Linked DNA regions of Homo sapiens: region 2 is linked to region 1. The links are contacts of gene promoters, found by promoter capture Hi-C in human tissues and cell types (Jung and others, 2019). All regions are on one chromosome and are shown on one strand. The core of a region is centred on a gene start or on the middle of the fragment in contact, and the rest is flanking DNA. Distances in the headings are between cores, read along the strand shown.

The links. The method cuts DNA at HindIII sites, captures the fragments that hold promoters and counts their contacts. A contact is called where the count stands out against the background at its distance.
Region 2: a fragment that was not itself captured here is called in contact with the fragment with the promoter of CHI3L1 in region 1 in 1 of the 25 tissues and cell types used here (liver).

What each region holds. Positions count from the first base shown.
Region 1 is chr1:203,185,408-203,188,191 of GRCh38, reverse strand. It overlaps CHI3L1 (chitinase 3 like 1), which reads left to right and starts at 1,488. Exons shown (of 10, transcript NM_001276.4): 1 at 1,488-1,593; 2 at 1,847-1,876. The coding sequence starts at 1,569. The HindIII fragment of the contact is 13,862 bases long and covers 1-2,784 here.
Region 2 is chr1:203,148,380-203,151,163 of GRCh38, reverse strand. All of the region lies in intron 3 of ADORA1 (adenosine A1 receptor), which reads right to left. Among named protein-coding and RNA genes, the nearest start is that of ADORA1, 22 kb to the right of the region's middle. The HindIII fragment of the contact is 9,638 bases long and covers 1-2,784 here.

The sequences.
Region 1 (2,784 bases), core at 239-2,738:
ATCCTGTGCTCTGTGATGAAAAATTTTGCATCTGCATGCCACTTCATAATATCACTATTAGAAATTAGAAGTCCTCCTCTCAGTGCCCCAAATGAACCAGAAGAAGCTATCATTGACTGTCATTGCTGTCAATCATCTTGGGTACAAAAGGAGGCAGTCATCTTAAAAAGGAAAAGTGATGCCTCTTTAGTATTCACCGAGCGTGATTCTGGACAAGCCACTTTTTGTCCACCTCTCTTACAATGAAGGGAAGGCACTGGCTGAGTTTTAAAGGAAGAGAAAGGGAGAGAGGGAGAGAAGAGGGAGAGAGCAGAGAGACCTCACCGAGAGAGCTGCAAAACCAGCCTGGAAAAATTAGAGTATTACCTAACATTAGTGAAAAATAAAGGTACTTTCTTGAGAAGCCCTTGGACCCATTCTGCCTCTTGGAGTTCTGAACTTTTCACTCACTGCCTATTAATTAATGTTAAGCCTGCAAAGAATGGAGTTGTCCTGGATATTTGGCCAAAAAAAAAATGTATCCACAAACAGGGACGTAATCAGGCAGGGAGCCTCGTTAAGAAGTTTTGTTCTTGTCCTAGGAGTGATGAGAGATCACTGAAGGATTTAGAGAGGGGCTGTATCATCAGGCTTGGGTTCCAAAGCCTCACTGAGAGAGTTGGGGAGCTGACTGATGTCAGATGCTCGTGCAGCCGCCCCGTAGGGCCTGTATTTCCTCCATGGTGCCTCACTGCAGCACCGAGCTTGCAAAAGATCCTCTCTCTTTATGGGAATTTCAAAACAGAAGCAAAATAGCACCGGGGCTTAAAGCATTCTTGGGAATTTCCCTGTCTTTCCCTCTAAATAATCAGCATGTAAATTGCAAAAAAAAAAAAAAAAAAAAAAAAAAAGACACGGGCCCAAAAGGGAGCGCTCAGTTTCAGGCTCTTTGCTTTCCTTCCTCCCGAGGCTCTCTGGCCCTTACCCAGCCTGAAGACAGAAAGTGTGAGGGGGAGGGTAGGAAGGTAGGTCAAGCAGGGCAATGCTGAGCCTGGGAAGAAAACAACAGCCTTGTTTAGGGCACTGTGGCTTACGTAACTAAATTGTGCCCAGTTTCCACCTGGCCAGGGGCCTGGAGTGAATGCTGAAGATGCAAAGGTAGAGGCTGCCAGAAAAGCCAGGAAATTGCTGGCAAGAAAGGCCAGTGGTGGGGTGCAGGAGTGGGAGGAAGGCTGGGAAATGCGGCTGAGTCACATCTCCAGAAGCCCCCCATCATCACCCTAGTGGCTCTTCTGCTGGCAGGTGCCTCATGAAGACCTGACCCAAAGTTTTCAAAACTCTGCGGTTTCTCAACCCTCCTCTGGTAATCCATAGTACTCCCCCGCCTCCACTTGCCAGCCTCGTGATTCCTTCATTGACACATAGCTCAGTTCCCATAAAAGGGCTGGTTTGCCGCGTCGGGGAGTGGAGTGGGACAGGTATATAAAGGAAGTACAGGGCCTGGGGAAGAGGCCCTGTCTAGGTAGCTGGCACCAGGAGCCGTGGGCAAGGGAAGAGGCCACACCCTGCCCTGCTCTGCTGCAGCCAGAATGGGTGTGAAGGCGTCTCAAACAGGTATCTGGGCTAGCCAAGGTTAATCCATCAGAGTTGTGGGTTTTCAGGCCCAGACAGCCCGCAGAGCCATCTGCCTGCTGGGTGAGGGACTAAGGGAGTGGGCAGAGGGGGAGGAGAAGCAGAGCCAGGGGAGGGACTGAGGCTGCAACCAGGAGGTGGGGGTGGGGGAGGTGGGTCTCAGTTGCTTGGGGGAGGGAGCAGGGCGGAAGGGCAGGATGCACTTGCAGGGGTCTCATCCTGGATTTCTCTTCAGGCTTTGTGGTCCTGGTGCTGCTCCAGTGCTGTGAGTAATCCCTCCACCTCCACTTTTAAGTCCAGAGGCGTGGCGAGGGCACAGGGCAGGTGTGGAGGAGGTCTTAGCTCCAAGGGAACACTTTGCCAGGTTCTTCTGTGCTTCCAATGACTTCGAAATAGTCACGTTTGCTAAACTGGAGTGAGGAGTATATGGATGTTTATTTTGCTATACTCTTTGGTATATGTGAAAATTCTCAAAATAAGAAACTTTAAAAGGTCCTGGTTCAGTGAAGGCTTTGACTAACAGCCCCTGGGAGCCGCTAGTACAGTTGCCCAGTAGCTGCTTGGATGAGTGATGCCCACATTGTTTGCAGCAGGAGAAACAGAATTAGAGGCGAGGAAGGATTTCCTGGTCCATTGTGATATTGTGCCCCAGCCTGGGGGACATGCCGAGGGAGCACAGGACTGCCATTCCGGGTGGGTTACAAGTTAGAGGCACTCTCACCAGGAGGCAGAGAAAGGTGGGCCAGAGTCCCTCATGGATGAAGGACCTCACTGCAGGTCACTAAAGGTGCCAGCCTGAAAGCCAGGGCCATCTGTGACACAGGCTATCTTGGGCCTTCCCCTCCCACAAAGCCACTGCTTCCAGGAAGCCTGCTGTGCTGGCACCAAGTCCCATTTCATCCTTATTCCCCAGCTCCTACCCTTCCCCCACACAGTGCCTGTAGCGTATTCATCCCCTGCATTGGATCTTTTCTAAGCATTTTCAGAATAGGCCTTATTTTCACCAGTCAGGGAACTCCCCAGAGGCAGGGGGACCTGAACCAGCTCCTTTCATTTAAGAATTCTGACTTTGCTCACAATCTGCACCCCACTCCTCCCTACCCAACCCCACACCCCATTGGTGCTCAGCTCTGGGCTCAGCCTGAGGTCTCTTGCCGAATCCTGGCCCGGGCC
Region 2 (2,784 bases), core at 82-2,581, 37 kb after region 1:
CCTTCAGAGTATCTCTTGGCTTGCCTGGAACCCTGAACGCTTGCAGGGTACAGGGCATCTGCCTGAAGGCCTGTTTCCACCAAGGAACTGTAAATCCGACCCCCACTGGAGAGATCCCATGCAGACTCGAGATCAGCCCAAAGGCACCCGCTGGGGTTGGGACCTAGAAAGCAGGTTGGATGCCTGCTGACAGTCTGGAGTGACAAGAGGAGGTGCCTCTTGAGCCAGGGAGATTGGGATGCTGTGCTCTGAGGAGGCAGCTGCTGTCACTGAGCTTGGGCTGTCAGGGCCCCCTAAAGCTCACAGCACCTAGCCCCCTGCCCTGGAAAAGATTCAACAGACAGCAGATAGGGGGAGGACAGAGAAGACAGGAAGAGCTCACCACCTTGGAAATCTTTCCAAAGAAAGAGTCCACCCCCACACTCAGCTCCGCATTCCACAGCTTGTGCTTCCACATTAGAAAGTCCTTCCCAGAGTCTAACTTCAGTTCTTCCTGCTGCATCAGAACTCAAGAAGACACCACTTTTGGGACCTGGAAGAAGTACAGTCATATTCTCCCCGATCCTGGCCTTTCTCCCCACCTTGCAACCAGGCAAAGGGGTGTAGAGCCCAAATAACAGCAGGAAGGACCCCAGGACCCAGCAGTTTTCCATTGACCCTCCTGGTATCTCCTGATGCTCTCTTTGCCCTGTGTCCCTCCACATAAGCACTCACCAAGCCCACAGTGTACAGAGTCCCTACAGAAGCCACAGGCCAGGCCCAATCCGGGAACCAGTCCTCCCCAGCCAGCAGCCACCCAGGCCAGGGCAGAGCACACAGAAGAGTTTAGCATCAGCTGCAGCCCTCCTGCTCCACTGCATGTGCTCAGGGGCTTCTGCCCCAGCTCCAGGGATGGCTTTGTGGAGGAGGGGCCCAGACATACAGATGCAGTGGGAGGTGGGGAGCACCCAGGCTCACCCAGTGGGTGCAGGTGAGCCAGAGATCCCCCTCCCCAGAACAACATGCAGCAGGAAGTGGGAATGTGAGGTCTCCTAGATCATCTGGTGGCTGGCTCCCTTCCCTTCCCTTCCCCATGTGGGATAATCAGAAAAATTCTTTATTTTTCTCTCAGAGCACATAACTGCAAGTACCTGAAGGGCGAAGACGAAGTCTGGTTCAAAATCATCTTCCTAGCACCTACCACAGTACCTGGCACACAGTAAGCACTCAATAATATTTGGGGAAGGAAATGAAATCATATAAAATGCTCGATTAAAACCAGAGAGGCAGAAAAAGAGAAGCAAAAAAAAAAGAAAACAAATATAATGACTAGAAAACAGTTATAAACATGGCAGAGATTAAGCCAACTATTGCAATAATCACCTTAAATGTGAAGAAAGTAGGAGAAACTGGTAAGAGGAAGCCATTCTGAGCCTTCTTGCTCATCTCAACAACAACATCCCCCCTGGCAGGCAGCAGAGCTCTGCTCCCAACAGTCACAGCTGAGGGGCCTTCTACAGAATGCTCAGGGTCTCCACTCGAAGGTCCCGCCTCAACCACTCAGCCCCGATATCTCAAGCCACTTAATTAGGTGGTTCTCACAGGAGTCTAACACACTTCCTCCAACTGCAAGACCAGCCCCTCTCCTCAACTCCCGGCCTGGGTGGAGGTGGGGAACAGCCTGTCCTCCTCCTCCTCTGGGAGCTGGTCTGTGCCCCTGTCATTTGCACGGGTAAAACAGAGCAGCATGTTAGCTGCTGGCAGTATCCCAGGCCAGGAGCCTGCCAGGCAGCTTCTCTGAGGGTTGATCAATAAACTCAATTTCCGTCATTTCTTCCACTTCTGCAAAGTCCTATAAATCACTCCGCTCTGCCACAACCCTGGATGGGGGAAACTCATGATGTGTGTGGGGGAGGAAGAAGCTTATCAAATCAAAGCCTTTTTTTTCCATCCACCATTCATGGAAACTTCCAGGTGCTGTGCTCAGAGCTGGAAAAAGAAAATGCAGGCCTGGTACAGTAGCTCACGCCTGTAATCTCAGCACTTTGGGAGGCTGAGGAGGGTGGACCACCTGAGGTCAAGAGTTCGCGACCAGCCTGGGTAACATGGTGAAACCCTGTCTCTACTAAAAATACAAATATTAGCCAGTCTTGGTGGCATGCACCTGTAGTCCCAGCTACTCAGGAGGCTGAGGCAGGAGAATCGCTTGAACCCGGGCGGCGGAGGTTGCAGTGAGCCGAAATCATGCCATTGCACTCCAGCTGGGGCAACGGAGCAAAAACTCCGTCTAAAAAAAAAAAATGCAGAGAGACAGTAGTAACGGGCCTTGGGGAACGCCACCAGGCAAGAATCGGGTAGGACATGCACTGCAGCCAGGGGAGGGGCGGACACATGAGCAGTGGCACAGAGGGCACGTGGGGGAACAGGCATAGAGTGGCTTCCTTCACCCAGTTGATAGAAACACTGACAGTCTGGGACATTTGGAAGGTCCAACCCCAGGGCCTCCAACTTCCAATTCCACAAACGCCTGACCAACCACACTGCTCTCTCCCCTCCCAACCTCCTCAGCTGGTGCCCACTGTCTCCAATAGAGCACACTGGCTGGCTAGGGGGGCCAAGGCTCAGGGTGACAAAACACTGTGACAGGCAAAACACTGTGACAGCATTAGAGGACCTGGATTGGGATCAGACTCAGACCTGCTGTTAGCGAATCACATCACCTCTCAGAACATTAGGTTCCTCATCCATAAGATGGAGCCGATTGCTCCGCCCGTGATGTTGGAGCTACCATTTAGCATTGAGCTT